Linked DNA regions of Homo sapiens: region 2 is linked to region 1. The links are contacts of gene promoters, found by promoter capture Hi-C in blood cells and fetal thymus (Javierre and others, 2016). All regions are on one chromosome and are shown on one strand. Each heading gives the region's core, a stretch centred on a gene start or on the middle of the fragment in contact. The rest is flanking DNA. Distances are from core to core; before and after follow the strand shown. Region 1 holds the start of CNKSR3 (CNKSR family member 3). Region 2 overlaps CNKSR3 (CNKSR family member 3).

What was found. Contacts are between HindIII fragments. The CHiCAGO score rates a contact against its expected background, and 5 or more counts as called.
Region 2: a contact is called between a fragment that was not itself captured here and the fragment with the promoter of CNKSR3 in region 1, in 1 of 17 cell types (megakaryocytes). The highest score is 5.1, in megakaryocytes.

The regions. Positions count from the first base shown.
Region 1 is chr6:154,508,135-154,513,002 of GRCh38, reverse strand. It overlaps CNKSR3 (CNKSR family member 3), which reads left to right and starts at 2,318. Exons shown (of 13, transcript NM_173515.4): 1 at 2,318-2,940. The coding sequence starts at 2,889. LOC101928868 (a long non-coding RNA gene) reads right to left here and starts at 2,212. Exons shown (of 2, transcript XR_001744422.2): 1 at 2,041-2,212. The HindIII fragment of the contact is 4,325 bases long and covers 1-3,725 here.
Region 2 is chr6:154,397,134-154,401,718 of GRCh38, reverse strand. CNKSR3 (CNKSR family member 3) reads left to right here. Exons shown (of 13, transcript NM_173515.4): 13 at 1-4,585. Among named protein-coding and RNA genes, the nearest start is that of IPCEF1, 43 kb to the right of the region's middle. The HindIII fragment of the contact is 7,956 bases long and covers 1-4,585 here.

The sequences.
Region 1 (4,868 bases), core at 1,069-3,568:
GGCAGGCCTCCCTAAAACTTTCACGTGCTAACAGCTGTAATTAAGGTAGAAGGCTTTATTTAAATAGTAATTAGCTTCCAGAAGTTGAAGTGTAAACAGAATGCTAATTCATTTAGATAGTTAATTGGTCTTCCGGGTTAGAGATCTTAGCGTGGCCTTCCTCTTTAGCTATGCTGTATTTATGTACCAAGTATAGATAGTGTGTTGGCTCCGTGGGATGTTTTGCAAACTCTTGCTTGACTCGCAGAATTTTAGTGTTTTAGCTCTTCTGGTAAAGACTACTGCCAATGAATCTGAAGACGTGAAAACATCAAGTAAAATTCCACGGCAAAATCATTAATATTTGACCTTTCTTTTATAATTGTGGGGACCGTATGGCCCAGTTTATTCATGTTATTCCAATGTAATTCTTGATAGTTGCTTCTTTCATGCTCAAGAATATTTTGATTTGGAGGTAAGTTATGTGGTCACCCTAATCATAATCAGAAATCACACAACAGGCAGTGATTGCTGAAACAAAAGGTGTGCATCAGGTTGGTTACCCTTTCCAGTGAACCAGTGTCAAGGTCCTTCTCTCTGCTGACTGCTGTAAAGATGGTTAATGCTGGATGTCATTAAGTTTAAAGGTCTTTTTTTTTTTTTAAGGACAACTACTATATCAGGAATTTTGTCATTGCCTTTGCCAACTTGTGTGGTCTGCCAGTCACTTTCGCTAGATGAAGAAAAAGAATCACTATATTTGATAGTTGTGTGTCTCTGTGTTGCCCAGTCCTCTAGGGGAGTTGAATGGGAGGTGGGTCTGATGTTTTGCTTTTTAAAAATGTTTCTTTTGCTTGGATGCTCCAGCTCATCAGATGCTAGGCTGGCTGCTAGCTATTTTTCCACATGTGCGTCCAAACAGACCTGTGTAAGTAGCACATATCACACGAATTCAACAAATACTGAATGAATACAGTGGCTGGCACATAGGAAGCATTCCCGGATATTTACTGAATGAATAAATACCAACCTTGCCTTTGGTCCCGTGCTGGGTGCTACAAGTTAGGTGGTAGGAAGAAAGGGAGGAGAGAAAACTCTATATGAGATCAAGTAGGTTCTGCCCTCAAGGGGTTAATAGTCTCCAAGAGGAAGATGTAAATAAATAACCGTAATTGAAAGTAAGAATCATTCAGTGCCAAAAAGAGTGGGAGGAAGAGGTTGCTGGGCGGGGCGGGGCGGGGGTGGGGGGTTGGGGGGGGTGTTGGGGGGTGAGGGGAGGGGTGGTGGCGAGGGTGGCAGGGGTTGGGGGGGCGGTTAGGATGCAGGGAGAACTTGAAGGAGAGGCAGGCATTCAAATTAGATTTTCCCCCAGTTTAGCATTAACTCTGGCCCCAGTTGCAGTCCATGAATGTGGAAGGGCCCTCCCCTGCCAGGCGCTGAAATTGTGCACGAGCTATTTTTTTTTTCTTGGCTAACAGCTTTCCTCTCACGGTTAATGACTAATCCCAAGGAGCATTAGCTCACTCTGTAAATATGAAATTATAATATAGCAAAATATAACGCTAAAAGCCATCAATCTAATTTTAGTCGCAAAGTTGAAATTTCATAGCAATAGCATTAAAAGAGTTACATTGTTACGATTTCAGTCAACATATAAATGAAATAAAATTGTTCTGGCCTGGCGCGGTGGCTCAGGCCTGTAATCCTAGCACTTCGGGAGGCCGAGGCTGGCGGATCACCTGAGTTCAGGATTTCGAGACCAGTCTGGCCAACATGGTGAAACCCTGTCTCTACTAAAAATACAAAAATTAGCCGGGCGTAGTGGCAGACGCCTGTAATCCCAGCTACTCCGGAGGCTGAGGCGGGAGAATCGCTGGAACCTGGGAGGCAGAGGCTGCAGTGAGCTGAGATCGCGCCACTGCACTCCAGCCTGGGCGACAGAGCGAGGCTCCATCTAAAAAAAAAAATTGTTCTACTTTAAGAAACCTAAAATGACGGCTTAATGGCAGAGTAGTATTACGATATAAAGCATTTAAAATGAACAGAACATGCAGATCTTACTTTTTTTTTTCTTTTCTTTTTTTTTTAGTGTATTGTTGCTCACAGCGAGACAGAGTGTTCTGCTACCCACAGGGCCAGGGCCTCACACAAACCAGCGGGCTCTCCAGGGTGCGCGCGCGATCTACAACCCGCCCCTTGAAAAGGAAAGCGGGGCCCGGGACGCTGCGGGTGTGAGCCGGACCGGCTTAGAGAGGGAAAGTAACCCGAGTCCGCCGCTTCGGGCGGACCCGCCCCCTCCCACGAGTTTCCCTAGACCCTCGGCCCCGCCCTCTCTTTTATTCGGTTTGCAGCAACCGGAGCTGAAACTTTGCAACCCGAGCGCGCACGCTCTGCGCTCGGCCCTGCCAGGGCGGCACGGGAGGGCGGCGCAGGAGGTGGGACCTGCGCCGGGAAGGCTCCGGGACGCCAGCGCACGCGGAGCGGGGACCCCGGAGAGCCAGCAGGCGAGAAGACCGGCCGAGGGAGAGCCGATCGCGCCTCGAGAGATCCGAGGAAGTGGTCGCGGGCCGGGAGGCTCCCGTGCCGAGCCGAGGCCAGGGGTCTGGGGTCGCAGCCCGGCGTGCCTGCAGCTGCCGTCGCTCGGGAGCAGCAGCTGTGCCCGGGATCCCGGCGGCGGCGGGGGAAGGAGGAGCTGCAGCTGGACTGTGGCAGCTGGAGGGAGAGGGCCGGGCTCCCCTGGCGGAGCCGCGCTGGGACGACTGGCTGACCGCGGCCATGCAGTCTTGACGGAGTCGCTCGGGCGCAGGGGAGCAGCCGCGGGCGCGCCCTCCCGGGAAGGGGCACCGGAGCGCAGGCAGCAGCACTTTATCTGCGACTCTCCAGCCCAGCGAGAGGCGAAGCGGTTTACCATGGAACCCGTGACCAAGTGGAGCCCCAAACAAGTGGTGGACTGGACTAGAGGTGCGCGGGCCTTGGGGGGGTCCGGAGTCCTCCAGCCTCGGGGATGGGGCGGACGAGGAGCTGGGGAAGAGGGTACTTGGCCCTTCCTCCCGGCGAGAAGCGGTGAGGGCACAGCCCGGTGACAATGCAAACTTCTGCCGAGTGGCCTGTGCGCTCCTATCTCTCGTACCTGCTCCGAGCTCTTCCTTTCCAGGGTGCGGATTGTGGCAAGCCGAGGGGAGCCCTATCTTTAAACCAGGGAGTAGGGGTGGCCTTTCTGTGGCGGTTGAGGGCTGGGGATGCCGATCTCGGGACTCGGCACTCGGGCCGGGGGGCGCTCTCCCTGCCTGGCCCCGGTGCGGTGCCCGGCGACCCGGGGGCCCGAGTGCAGAGGCACAAGGTGCCTTTGTGTGGGTGACTCCCGCGGGACCTCGTCCATGCCGCCTGCCCAGAGCCGTCCGCAGGCGTGACAGGGCTGTCGGACAGGTAGAGGGAGACTCCGGCGGGTCCGCCGAGCCTGTCTGTTTTTGTTGGAGAAGGCGAGAGGGCCGCGCAAAAGCCAACACCATAGCATTTGCGCCAGGGAGAAACCTCGAGCCAGGACTCCCCGGGAGGCAGTGACTTTTGCTCCGGGAGGCGCCAGTATCCCCGGTGGCGCTGCATTTTCAGGCCACATGTAAGCACTGGGAAGGAGAAATATAATTGTTTGGAACCACTGTCTTGATTCATACAATATTTGGGATGAGGAAGGCAGTGGGGCTGGGGCGGTGGGGGGGTGGTGGGGGGAATGAGCAGAGGTAGAAGCTTGTCCTCCTAGCTGGCTCGCTTACTTTTCAATGTCTCCTACGATTTCGAGGGAAAGGTACTAGAGTTTACTCAACCCTTTTCTGTACTTTCAAGAGAACAAAGTCCACCAAGAACAATCTGTATTTTCATGGTTTCCCCCCACCCCCAACGACATCTCTGTTTCAAGTTACTATTTGTTTTTCTATCTGCTCTTCCAGGTGAGGAATGGTGTTCTTTCTCAGTAATAACTAGAATTGTGTAGCGCTTTACAGTTTGCTAAGAGCTCTCTCTGTTATTGTCCTTGGTCATCACAGTAAGCCTGTGAGGTAGGTAATACTGGTAAGACCAGGTCGTCTTTCAAACCGTCCCACCCATGGCTGCAGCATAATGAAAACTGATCACCGCTACATCTCATTTCTCACGCCTGTGACTTACACATAGACCACGTGGAATAGGATGTCCGAGGTGTGTGGGGTGTGTCAGTGGGTATGTCTGACCATTTCCTGCTCCTCTGGGAGAACTCCTTGAGAACGGGTTTGTCAAGTGAGCAGAATTTCCTGGACTCCTATATAAAATGAAGCTAAAAACAACACATGTTTCTGCCTTGGTGACTAGGTTTCCCTTGGTAAAGAGTAAGTGGCATTGCCAGTACTTGGTAGGAAGCATGAGCTTAAAAGCCATCCATGCCCACGCTAGCTTGAAATGAGGTGTGTTCCTCCATTCAAGATGCTGCCAAATTCCCTAGGCTGGCAGCTTCCTGAAACTGAGTTGATATGTATTTTATCTGTATGTCCCTCATAGAGCCAACTTGAGACACTGCAAATTTCAGCTACTGTTGACTTCTAGAGCCGCTCTGTCCAACTTAGTAACCAGTACCACTTGTGGCTCTGCAGCCCTTGAAATGTGGCTGGTTAGAATTGCAATGTGCTGTAAGTCTAAAATACACATGGCATTTGAAGACTTGGTATGAAAAAAAAGAACATGAAATATCTTAATACTTTTTATTACATGTGGAAATGATAGTATTTTGATACGTTAGGTTAAATAAAATATATTACTAAAATAAGCTTCACCTGTTTATTTTTACCTTCTTACATATGTCTCCTAGAAAATCTAAAATAACACAGGGCTCACATTTGTGGCTTCCATTATATTTCTATTGG
Region 2 (4,585 bases), core at 1,375-3,874, 110 kb after region 1:
TTGCTCCTACCCTTGTGCATAAAATCACTGCATCATTTCCGTGGGGATGAGACTACTGCAAGCTACTTCCTTGGAGATTCTGTGGAAGATGGACATCTTAAAAGTAAACTACTTTTGGTATGACTGCTCATTGGCTTGGCCAGTGATACTTGATGTTATTTATTTTGTGAGTTACTCTGTGTCTTAATCAGCTCAGGCTGCAATAACAAAATACCATACACTGGGTAGCTTAAATGACAGAAATTTCTCACCGTTCTGGAGGCTGGGAAGTCCAAGATCAAGGTGAGTTCCTGGTGAGCACCCTTACCCTGGTTTGCTGATAGCCATCATCTTCCCATTGCATCCTTACATGGCAGAGAGAGAGAAAGGAAGCAAGCAAGCTCTCCTTTCCCTTCTTGTGAGGGCGCTAATATTCATGAGGGCTCCACCCTCAGGACCTACTCACTTCCCAAAGGCCCACTTATGGTATTAGCTCCGCCTCCTAATACCATTGCTTTGGAGATTAGGGTTTCAACAGATGAATTTTGGGAGGACATAAACATGCAATCCATAGCACTCTGCTTTTGTATATTTTTCAAACCTTTCATGCTAATCAGCTGGAAGGTGAATATTTTAAAATCTATTTTAAAACTGGCTTAAGGAGCACACAAAAGCTGATTTCTGATGTTTCTTCCAATACGTGGAAAATTTTGCATGATGTATTAACCCCTAGTTAGGGTCCCTCAACCCCAGTTGAGGACCTCAACACACATTTGGTAATACCTAAGGGAATTTAAATATATATTTTGTAGCCTATAGCATATGGAATTAGAAAAAAATTAGTCTCTTTACTGTAAAATTTACCTTTTAATTATTTGGAAATTTCACAATTGCCAAGTTTCAACTTAAAGTTTCTATTTATTTGGGGCCAGAATTATTGCCAGAAGTGTGCTAATTTGACAAAGGGTACCTTTTACATAAGTAAAGGAAAAAGTGATTACATCATGTTCAGACCTGCTAGAGGGCCTTGTTTTTCCTCTAGTTTTAGGGGTGTGGAGTCTGTCCCAAACCCTATATATGTGTGCATTTGTGTATGTAAAAGACAAATTTTTTATACTCAAAAGTTTGTCTTAAATAATGGCCTATGGCCTACTGATTTGGATAGAGGAGAGAAATTTTGTCTATAAGCAACAAAAAATGCTACACAGCCAGGAGACTGTCACACACAGTTTTTCAGAACCTTTGGGCCACATACTGCACTCCCCTTCCATAGAAATACACATGGGGTCAGTGATTAAGGACTCAATTCTGGTTGTGACTTGGCCATCCATAGGCATATTCTAAAGTTCTATGGCAACCTTTATGAAGCTCGTCTTCTGAGTTGATCACCTGTTCATGCGCTGCCCATTTACAACATACCTCAGGGATTAAAACGTGAGGCTACACCTAAGGAAAGTCGGTCCTAATCCTGCGTTTCCTCCTGCATGTCACTGACCATTGGAGTCACTGCTCTCTGAGGAAGACAGTTTACAGCCTGAGCATTCATGTCACGCTCACAGCCAACCTGTTACTTGCTGGCCTCCTTTACCAAGCTCCTTGTTTCATGAAGAAGTTGTGAAACTGAAGTTGGAGGAAAAAAATTAAGAAATAAACCTCAAAGGTATTTAAAAGGGCAGTAGAGTAATTACTCCTCACACCCAGGGATAAGGATATTCTCATCATTTTCTCTCCTCTTGCCTGGAGCATAAACATTCAGATGTTTGTGAAGAAATGATTAAAAGGAGAGAAAATATCAGGAGAAAAATGATTAAAATGAGAGAAATGTTCTTCCACTGACTAGACCCATTAAAGGGGAGGATTTAACTTTATTGTTAGAGGGGTGAAAACTGGATTTTAAGATATTTCTTCACCATTTTGACATATCTTGGGCTGAACATTTTGATTATTTTAGAGAATCAGGGAGCTTCAGAAATGAAGTTTAATATAAAGTAAGATTGTCTCTGAAGGAAGAAATTGTCCTTTTAACTCAGTGTCAGGTTCCGTTTTCTTACTCATATCTAAACTTCCTGTCACTCCAACTGAGGCTGCACCAGGATAAGAGGAGGGATTTGAGGAATTAGCGCGAATTTAGAAGCCTTTGACTTTTGGGAATTTGCATCAAGCAGATAGAAGCAGGCGGGGGCTCAGCTTTTGAAGTTGGATCATCCAGCTGTCTCACTTTGCCACTTATGGGATCTGTGACTTGAAGCAGGTGACTGACCTCTCCACTCCTCAGTTATCTATGAAATGGGGATAATACTAGCATCTACTTCGAAGGCTTATGGTGATTAAATGAGATAATGTTTTTAAGGCCCTTTCTTCGCATAGTCTGGCACACAGCATTTAAGAGATGTTGACTCGTGTTCCTGTAGTAGCAGTACTGACTCCATCTCAGCCTCTAGTGAATAAGGTATTCAGAGCTGGCCAACAGGAAATTGCTCATTCTTTTGTCCATAAGCAGCAAAATAATGCCAGTGTGACACTGTCAGAGGGCTGCAGTGTGGTCAGTGGCCTAGAGATGCAGCTTTTACTGTTAGAAAACTCACTCGGATGTTTTAGCCGATTCAGAACTCAAGAAATGACAAAAGTCTGTGATTGGACACACTTTTTTTTTTTTTTTTGAGACGGAGTTTCAGTCTTGTTGCCCAGGCTGGAGTGCAATGGTACGATCTTGGCTCACCGCAACTTCCGCCTACTGGGTTCAAGTGATTCTCCTGCCTCAGACTCCCAAGTAGCTGGGATTACAGGCATGTGCCACCACACCCGGCTAATTTTGTATTTTTAGTAGATGGGGTTTCTTCGTGTTGGTCAGGCTGGTCTCGAACTCCCGACCTCAGGTGATCCGCTCACCTCAGCCTCCCAAAGTGTTGGGATTACAGGCGTGAGCCACTGCGCCCCGCCTAGAGTATTCTTTCAATATTGACTTGATTTGTCATCATCATATCTTTTCTATTAAATCCCTTCCACTTCCTTCAATGAAATCGTATATGAAAACAAAGGGAATCGGAGCATTTTGCCCACCTCCTAGTTGGCTGAATTATTTTTGCCTCCCATTCCCATCTTGAAGTGGTATTCCTCAAACTCGTTTCTATGTTTCCTGTGGTTTTAAATAAAGGAATAATGTAGAATGGTATCTATTTTGGACATTCTCATCGTGAAAAGGAACTCTTACACAAATACAAAGCCAAGAGATTGTGTTGCCATTGTTGAAGCTGAAAAGGACAGTCACTGGATGCCTCCCCACCCAAGGCCAAGGCTTTGGTAGGTCCAGGAAGTGAAAAGGAAAGAGAAGCTATGGGAGAGACAAAGGGAAGTAAAAAATGGTTGTTCGGCTCAGCATAACAATCACTTTTGTGGGGCTTATTGGTTGTGCATAAATTTCATCCATTTGGGCACACACACAGATGTGACACCCAGACCACTCAGACACTTGGCTAACACTGATGCCGTCATCCTGAATGTTGTTTCTGGAAGGACTTTCATGAATAGAATCTATTTCAGATTGGCCGTAAGTCTCGATTTATTGATCCGCACCACTGGACTGGGGTGGGGTTGTGTCCACTTTTTCCCTGCCCCTTCCCTGCTTTGGCTCTTGTGATTGTGTCCTCCGTGTGTCAGGCAGAGCCCTGTGAAGGTGTGGATATGTGGCCATATTTTACCTGCATAATCTGCAGTTCATATGATTCAGCCTAATGGGTTGCAATGCCCTGAGGACAGAGACCATACTTTTTCTTCCTTTGTCTTTTTAGCGAAATTCAATCCTGTTCTGCGCCTGCGCCACAGTTGCAGGCTGTACTGTCTGCCCTGTGCATCTCACACACCCCCACTGCACTGTGCACCTAGTGATGGCCGCAGATTTGCTTTTACTCATCTTCCAGGGCCTACCCTGTTAATTCCATCACAGTTGCAGGCTGTACTGTCTGCCCTGTGCATCTCACACACCCCCACTGCACTGTGCACCTAGTGATGGCCGCAGATTTGCTTTTACTCATCTGTTTGCAGGGCCTACCCTGTTAATTCCATCACAGTTGCAGGCTCTACTGTCTGCCCTGTGCATGCATCTCACACACCCACTGGACTGTGCACCTAGTTGATGACCACAGATTTGCTCTTACCCATCTATTTCCAGGGCCTGCCACTGTTAATTCCTAGGAAAAAAGAAAAAACAAGCATGGTGGATTGGTTAAATTGGCATTTTATATTGTTTGTGTTCATGGCCATGCCAATGATAAACAAGAGCTGGTCATGGGCATTCAGATCAGATGAGCAATTAAATCCCCTCCAAAAAACAGAAACCTACTTTTAGAGAAGAAAAGAATTAAACCAAGATCTTTCAGGGTTTTGCTTCTCCTTTTGTTTTTAAGGCACTTAAATAAATGGAAGAACATGTAAGCTAACCGTGTTTAGAGTACTATGTTTTACTAGAAAGTGCTACCCTTCTGCAGATTTCTCCTCAATGAAAGAATGCCACTGAAGCACCTTTAATGGTGCCTTTATCCTATAGTCTTATTGAATCATTCTCTTTAGCCAACATAAAATACAAAGCCAGGGTATAAGACTTCATGTA